Linked DNA regions of Homo sapiens: region 1 is linked to region 2. The links are contacts of gene promoters, found by promoter capture Hi-C in blood cells and fetal thymus (Javierre and others, 2016). All regions are on one chromosome and are shown on one strand. Each heading gives the region's core, a stretch centred on a gene start or on the middle of the fragment in contact. The rest is flanking DNA. Distances are from core to core; before and after follow the strand shown. Region 1 has its middle 47 kb from the start of RPUSD4. Region 2 holds the start of DDX25-AS1 (DDX25 antisense RNA 1).

Region 1 (4,294 bases), core at 1,022-3,521, 230 kb before region 2:
ATTCTAGCATGGGACTTGCAGGAGGAGGGGAATTGCCAGCGCGATTTGGGTCACAGTGGAGATTTCTGGACAACTGAGAAAAGTGATCCTGGAAAGATACTAAGGTTACGCATAGTGACTTCCAATCTGAAGTCAGACGGCATGAGAATCATGGCACTTCCTGCCTTCACTGATACTTTTCAAGGACTTGACGCTCCTCCTTGAGTTCAAGACCAAGGAAACATGGCCTTCCCCTCTCCTGCACATCCTTTGCCCTAAATCATAGAAAGGGAAGTTCTAAGCCCTGGCCTGCAACAAAGGAGTTAGTGAGCCCCGAATCTGGCCTCAGAGAGGACAGGATGGTGCCTGGTGAGGAAGCAGCTTCCCTTCCGCCTGGTGTCTTGGCTCCATGGAACGATCCTCTCCAGAGCACTTGAGGCCTAGAGTCCTTCTGAATGGAAACAAGAGACTCGTAAATCCCAAAGCCAGACTCCCTTGGAAGCTCCTGGCTCGGCTCTTGCCTCCCGGGCTCCCTGCCATGAGGAGCATCTCCCAGACTGCTCTCCCTCTCCCCCAGCCGACTGCACGCGCTGACTTTTTGCTCTGGTCGGGGGCAGCCTGTGCCCTGCCTGCCCGGAGGCCTCCAGCCTGCTTGGGTTACCATGAATGAGCATGTTTGGGCTGAATGGTAACCCTCAAGTTTTTCTGAAATTTGGGGTCACTGGGTCCTGAGATGCTGACCTAACATTTTGGGGAAGGTTTGATAAACTGGGTTTCGAAGAGGCCCCAGACAGCCGTCCATCCAACCAGTGCGGGTTACGAGACGAGGAAATCCAGGCAAAGTCCAGTTGAAATCAATCTGTTACCTCCCTTCAGCGGAGGCCCCAACACCCAGGCCCATCCGTTCCCTCTGGGGCCCCATCCCAGGGTGTTGATCCCACGCCAGCTCCAGCCAGCTGCCCAGGAGTCTGTCTCCTGCTCTGATGATGGGGCTCCCGCCCCTCCTCTCACTTCTTCCTTTTCCAGTCAACCTTGTCCTTCATCTAGAGGTCATGAGCAGAGACCTCCAGGTGCAGCCCGTGCTGGGCTAAGGGAGTCAATCCCACACTGTCAGGCAGATCTGTCGAGAGAGCTTTAGGGTTTTTAATTAGGAGGGCCAGCTGGGCTCCTTCTTTAGTCCCCTACTCCACCCCCCAGCCTGGCTTGTAACTTGACTTGTTAAGATGGAACCAAGGGAAGGAGGGAAAGGAAGAGAAGGGAGCATGAATTACTAACCTCACTTCCTCCCTGTGTTTTAAAAGTCACCTTGTATCCAGTCTCCTTACTTTTTTTTTTTTTTTTTTTTTTTGCGGGGTCGAAGAGGCGTGACAGGGTCTCATTCTGTCACCCAGGCTGGAGTGCAGTGGCATGGATCATAGCTCATTGCAGCCTCAAACTCCTGGGCTCAAGTGATCCTCCCAAGCAGCTGGGACTACAGGGCATATCTGGCTATTTTGTTCGTTTGTTTGTTTGTAGAGGCCAGGTCTCCCTGTGTTGCCTAGGCTGGTCTCAAACTCCTGGCTCTGAGTGATCCTCCCACCTTGGCCTCCCGAAGTGCTGGGATTACAGGTGTGAGCCACTGTAGCCGACCATTTCTTAATTTATTGAATCCTGGTGTCTTAGGTGTTTAAGCGTCCTCAGGGCTTGCAGGAGAAAGTTTCTGATTAAGGAAATGGATCCGTGGAAGTTGCTGAGGATGGAGTTTCTTTCCCTTGTGTTACAGCTGACCAGTCATGGGGCTAGAGCTGGAACTCAGACATCCCCTCTCCAGGCTTGACTGACAGTAACCAGGTAAAAATAATCTACGGGGCACCAGAAGCCTTGGGGTCTGGTCATGCTCAGGCGCTAACTTGCAGGGTGACCTTGGGCCAGATTTTCCTCCTCTCCAGGTCTCAGTTTTTTCATAGGAGTAGAAAAATTTTTCTGCTTTTGAGGCCATTCCATTTAAGCAACTGCAGGAAAAGGAGTGATTATAGTAGTAGCAATTCAGATCAAAGGTGGAGAGGTCTTAAAAGGATTTGGTGCTGGGCTGGACTATAGTGTTTTGATTTAAATGTGGTAAATGCTAGGAGAGGCTGTTGGCCCTGGAAGGGCTCAGGGCTGATGGAACAAGAGCTGCTGATGAAGAAGATGGCTGTGACGGGGACAAGCACATCGCTGCAGGCCCTTGGTCTATTTTATTTATTTATTTATTTTATTTTTGAGACGGAGTCTTGCTCTGGCACCCAGACTAGAGTGCAGTGGTGCGATCTTGGCTCACTGCAACCTCCATCCCCCAGGATCAAGCAATTCTCCTGCCTCGGCCTCCTGAGTAGCCACACCTGGCTACATTTTGAATTTTCTGTAGAGACAGAGTTCCGCCATGTTGCCCAGACTGGTCTCAAACTCCTGACCTCAGGTGATCTGCCCACCTCGGCCTCCCACAGCATTGGGATTACAGGTGTGAGCCACCGCACCTGGGGCCCTGTGGTCTGTTCTTGAAGATTCATTTCCTCTCTCAGGGCAGTTCAGAGGAAGCTAGAGTTTGAGGGCACAGAGCTCTAGGAAAGGGTTTCCTGATTACCGGGCAAATCTGAGACCCCTCCCTCTGGGGCCTCCCATTCTCTGCCTGGTCTCCCGGTCTGCCTGTTGCTCTCTGTCGCCGGGTACGTCTGCCCCTCTTGGGTCTCACTGTCTCGGGGTCTCACTCTGTCTATGGGAACCTTTGCCTTTGGGACCCAATTACTGGACCCTCTAGGAAAGTTTAATTGAATATTTGTATTGAAAACAGGAGCCAGGGCCCCGAGCCTGATGGGAGGAGACAGGGGGAGAAGAGGGGAGCTGTGTTTGCTTTTCACTCCGGATTAGAGACCTTTATTTGTGCTGAGAGCAGAGATTGGGCCTGGGGATAATGAGTCTGAAGTTTGTTTTCTCCCTCAGGCTGCCCCTCCCTCTGCCTACTCTCTCTGCAGGGAAGGGGTTAGGGCAGAGGGGCCGGGAACTTGTCCGAGCTGCGGTCCGCTGGGCATTCTGTGCCCTGGGGCCCCAGCCTGGGTCTCAGGAGCTGCAGCTGGCCGCAGCTATGCCTGACATAGGCACGGGCTGTGCCGGTTTGCATACGTGCACTTCAAGCCGCGGGTGCTGGGTCATGAGTGCCTCCTGGGAAGACCCTCGGCCAATGCGTGTGCATCTGGGTGTGTGAGAAACGTGCTGTTGTTGAGGACAGTGACTGCTGAGTACATCTGCTGCCAGGAGGCTAAGGCGGTCACATGGGAGTGTGATTCATTGAGGCCTGAAAAGTGCCATCAATCTCACTCTTTCTGGAAGGCATAAGATGCCATTCCTGTGAGCTGCTCCGCGCTCCCCCGCACTCCTCGTGGCAGGGACCTGAAGTTTCTTGGCCGTGCCGCCCCTGGAAAAGTCTGCCAGTGAGCGGGGAATTAGCCAGGCTCCTGCTTCCTCCGAGTGAACACTGTAGCAATCCTGGGGTCCCATGTCTTGCCCATCGCCCTGAGGCCCTGTGCTCGTGATTGCTTTTGATCTGAGCAGAATCTGCCTGTGTGAGGCTGGGCCACTTGTCCTGGGTCACACAGAGCTGGGGATTTGTGGGGAGGGCACCCCGATCGTCCCAAGGGCCTGATGGCTCTCCGGCGGTGGTCGCGTTCCTGCCAGGTGTGAAGACCTGCTCAAGTCCACACAGCCCACTCCAGGCCGAATAGGGAATTCAACCCAGGTTTGTTTGCCTCCAAAATCCATACCTTCTCCTTAGGGGCTGGACAGCAGAATCAAGGGGGTGGGCAGCCGGGGCTGAAGGACCCCAGTGGAGAGAGGAGATTTGATTCCTCTGGCTGTTTTTCTAAAGGAAGATTGAGAAGAGGGCCAGGAGATTCCTGGAGGTGATCACAGCCGCTGCACCTGGCAGGTCACTCACAGTGTGCAGATGGAGGCAGCAAGGCCAGTGTCTGCCTCAAGCCTTCCTTTCCCTTCTCCCCAGCCGCCCTCTCATGCTCCTTGCCCCGCCTTGCTGAGATCTAACAGCTGCTGTTATTGAGTGTCTGCTGTGTGCCTGGCCCATTCCAAGTGCTTCACATAGGTTACACATTTCACTCTTGCTACAACCACAGGAAGGAGTTTCTTTATCCTGATTGTAAGAGGGGAAAATACCATCTCACACCAGTTAGAATGGCGATCATTAAAAAGTCAGGAAACAACAGGTGCTGGAGAGGATGTGGAGAAATAGGAACACTTTTACACTGTTGGTGGGAGTGTAAACTAGTTCAACCATTATGGAAGGCAG
Region 2 (4,112 bases), core at 651-3,150:
AATACAAAACTTAGTCGGGTGTGGTGGCGTGTTCCTGTAGTCCCAGCTACTCAGGAGGCTGAGCCACGAGAATCACTTGTACCTGGATGGTGGGGGTTGTAGTGAGCCGAGACCACGCCACTATACTCCAGCCTGGGCAACAGAGAAAGACTCAGTCTCAAAAAAAAAAAAAAGTTAGAAAATTAATTTTGTTATATGTGAGAATAGTTTTTTGATGATGTAAGACAATGTTTCTGTTTTTTAATGAATACTAAAACACTCAGCAATGAGATGTCCCGATGTCTTTAGCTTACCTTAAACTACTACGCAAAAACAGACCAGAAGCTGCTTTCACCAGGCCTCTAGCCCTGCATTGCCATGGGGATTCTTGCAGGGAAGAAGCTGTACATTAACATCTTCCTAATTTTGTAAAAGTTGTGTGAGGTATGCCGGGTGGTGGAAGGGGTGAGATGGAGAAAGGAGAGTGCCTTTGGGGGCAGTTAGAGCAGAGAGGAAGAGATTTCCCTGAGTTTGGGGACAGTTCAGAGGTCACTAGGTACCTGGGAGAAGAAGAGTCTGGAGACAGCAGGCCAGGACCCCAGAGCGTACAGGACTGGAGAGCTATTGCTGACTGCACAGGCCCACAGAAAGCTTGGACAACGAGCAGGCCAACAACCACCACGATGGACCAGCAGTTAGAGGCCTTCCCTTGGTTTCATCCCTCCTAAGTTTCTTAGTCAATTTGTGTGGCTATACTAGAATACCTGAGACTGGGTAATTTATAAAGAACAGAAATTTATTTTCTTACAGTTCTGGAGACTGGGAAGTCCAAGACCGGGGCTCCAGCAGGTCCGGTGTCTGGTGAGAGCTGTTGTCTTCCAAGATGGCGCCTTGTCACTGCATCTTCCAGAGGAGACGAAGGCCATGTCCCCACATAGTGGAAGGCAGAAGGGCAAAAAGGGATAAACTCCCTTTGTCAAGCCCTTTTATAAGGGCAGCTACTCCCATTCACAGGGGAGGAGCCCTCGTGGCCCAACCACCTCTTGGAGACCCCATCTCTTAATACTACCACACTGGCAACACCTGAATTTTGGGGACACATTTAAACCATAGCAATAAGCCCCCGGGTTCTGGTGGGACGCTGGAAAAAGGCAGGAGCCCCAGGAATGAACTCAACTCTACTTGATTTTAGTGAAATAGAGAAATGGATATTTTTGTGCACCTAAGTTTATAGAGTAAGAGTCACACCTACTGCACCACTACGATTATTATTATTAGCGTTGCTGTTGTTGCTGTTTCCCGGGCTGTGACACTAGGCCTCAGTGCATTTGAGTGCTGTCTGATATGAGCAAAGTGCTCAGGACAGCTGCAGTTCCTTCCCCCAGGAAAGACTCCTAGCCCTTCAGTTCCCAGGTTCTTCCTGGGTTCTGCCCCATCTGGCAACAGTGCTGCTACCAGGCCGGGAATGACAATATAGGGACAGTTCTCTGTAGTTGAGGGTCTGGTTGGAGGTCCCTGGTAGGAGTCTGTCTGGACCCAGCACAGGGGATGCCCACCAGGCCAGCCCTAGCCTTCAAGGGTGGGCCAGACTTTTGAGGTCTGTTGGGGAAGCCAGGGCCCAGGGAAACTTCTAGCTGCTCTCTCCATCTTCAGGCTTGTCACCTCCTCTCTATCCCCTCCCAGTGCCCTCCACCCAACCTGGCTAGATTCTCCAAGTTCCCTGGCTGAGGAGCAGGAAGGAGTGGGGAGTTTCCATAATGTCTCTGTAGAGCTCCAGGGTGAGGCTTGGCAACTGGAAATTGTCAGTCGTCTCCTTGGCGACCAGCAGCCAAATAATTCTGGGAATGGAGGAGGGAAGGGAGCTCTCAGCAGGGCGGCCAAGAGAGGCAGCCCTCACTTCCCAGAAAACTTCAATTCCTCATTACCTGTGTCAGCTGGGGTTCAATCAGGAGACAGAAACCACACCAGTTAGTTTGAAAAGAGAATTCAGCATAAGGAACTGATAATGAGGTATGAAGTTGTTAATTAGGTAAGGAGAGGGTAAGGAGAGAGAAGAGTAAGCTTTCATGGGGGTTGCACCTGCAGGAGCAGCTACCACTCCAGGGCTGGAGAACCCTAAGGAAGAGTTTTGAAGGAGGGTTCCAGAGCCTGTGACCCAGACATCTGAGGAGGGGGCTCAACTCAGCGGGAGCTGGGGTCTCCGGGTGTGAAGAAAGGACTCCTGCACCCAGACCTCTGCGGAAGGGGCACCTGCCAGCTGGTGCTGGGGTCTCTCAGGTAGGGATGCAGGGCTGGGGTGGGGTGGATGATGGAGCTGCAAGTGTTGGGAACACTGCAAACTGGATCAGGTGCTGCTCCAGGAGGGGCCTGCTGTTCCTGGGGTGAAGATGTGTTGCTGGGGTGCCCTCACAGGGAACACACAGATGCAAACAGGAAGGAGCCTGTCCACACTTCCTGTCCCGCCTGCAGCCTCCCTCTAGTGACTGGCAAAACAGAAATGGAGTTGGTAGGGTCCAAGCCCAACATCGCAAAACTGGCTGCAGAAGATACAGGTCCAGAGCTGAGAAATAAGAACCTTGTTACCCCATTGCTGGAAGTTCTGGTCTTCCAGCTTTGTCGTTAGTGGTAAGAGCAATGCTGAATGCGTAGTGGGTGCTCACCTAATGTTGTTGTCTGGCCACTGCCTCAGCTGATTCCTGAAAAGGCACATGGACAGGTAAGGGACAGGCCCATCCCTCCCCTTCTTGGCTTTATTCTGGCCTGTTTTGAAGTTACTGACATTCACAGGCTCTGATAGCTGGAAGGAATTTTTTAATGGTAATGATGAAAACAACAGCAGCAAAGAAATATTACAAGTGGCCTAAGGAAAACTATAAAGTTACTGGGATCAAATCGTACATTAAAAGTACAGGACAAGATAAATAGCCCCATAGGGCAGAAATAGAACAAAGTTCAGAAATTTATCCCCGTGCGTATGGATTATAGGGTACAATAAAGGTGGTATTTCAAACCAGTGGATTCAAACTATGGTTTCTTTAATAAATTGTATAGGCACAGTTGACTCTATGTCTGAATGAAAAAAAAAGGTTACGACCTCTACCTCATTAAGTTATTAAAACAAAATTTCAGATCCGAAAGATTTAAATATAACATTTAAAACAGTTTCATGAGGAAAAATATTAGAATATATGATCTAGAGTTTGAAGAGATTTTTCTAAATAAAGTAGAAAATTCAGAAGCTACAGATGAAAAGAGAGACATAAGAAGCTTAAATTTTAGAAAGATAAAATATACCGCTGGGATCATGAGGTCAGGAGTTTGAGACCAGCCTGGCCAACATAGTGAAACCCCATCTCTACTAAAAATACAAAAATTAGCCAGGCATGGTGCCACGTGCCTGTAGTCACGGCTACTCAGGAGGCTGAGGCAGGAGAATTGCTTGAACCCAGGAGGTGGATGTTGCAGTGAGCCAAGATTTCGCCACTGCACTCCAGCCTGGCCAACAGAGCGAGACTTCGTCTCACAAAAAAAAAAAAAAAAAAAAAAAAAAAAAAGATACCGCTGAGTGCAGTGGCTCACACCTGTAATCCCAGCACTTTGGGAGACCAAGGTGAGCAGATCGCTTGAGCTCAGGAGTTCCAGACCAGCCTGGGGAACATGGCGAAACCCCGTCTCTACAAAAAATTCAAAAATTAGCCGGGTATGGTGGCGCATGCCTGTAGTCCCAGCTACTCGGGAGGCTGAGGTAGGAGGATGGCTTGAACCCAGGAGATCAAGGCTGCAGTGAGCTATGATCGCACCACTGCACTCTAGCCTGGGCAACAGAGTGAGATTTTGTCTCAAAAGACAAAAGACAAAAAAAAAAAAAAAAGAAAACAGAAAGATAGAAGATACTATATGTAAAGTCAAAAGACAAACTATAGACTGGAGAAAATATTTCAATATGTACCACCAATAACGAGTTAATATCTGGTACACAAAGATCCTGTCTGTCAATAAGAAAGAGAAATAACCTAGTAGAAAAATAGGCAAAAGATAGAAATAGGTGATTCATGGAAGAGAAAATCCAAATGGATAATACATTTATGGAAAGATGCTGAACCTCACTAATAGTCAAGGAAATGCAAATTTTA

The links. The method cuts DNA at HindIII sites, captures the fragments that hold promoters and counts their contacts. A CHiCAGO score of 5 or more calls a contact.
Region 1: a contact is called between a fragment that was not itself captured here and the fragment with the promoter of DDX25-AS1 in region 2, in 1 of 17 cell types (non-activated CD4 T cells). The highest score is 5.2, in non-activated CD4 T cells.

What each region holds. Positions count from the first base shown.
Region 1 is chr11:126,162,213-126,166,506 of GRCh38, reverse strand. No RefSeq gene overlaps it. Among named protein-coding and RNA genes, the nearest start is that of RPUSD4, 47 kb to the left of the region's middle. The HindIII fragment of the contact is 5,651 bases long and covers 1-4,294 here.
Region 2 is chr11:125,936,830-125,940,941 of GRCh38, reverse strand. It overlaps DDX25-AS1 (DDX25 antisense RNA 1), which reads left to right and starts at 1,900. Exons shown (of 4, transcript NR_199024.1): 1 at 1,900-2,256. The HindIII fragment of the contact is 1,410 bases long and covers 633-2,042 here.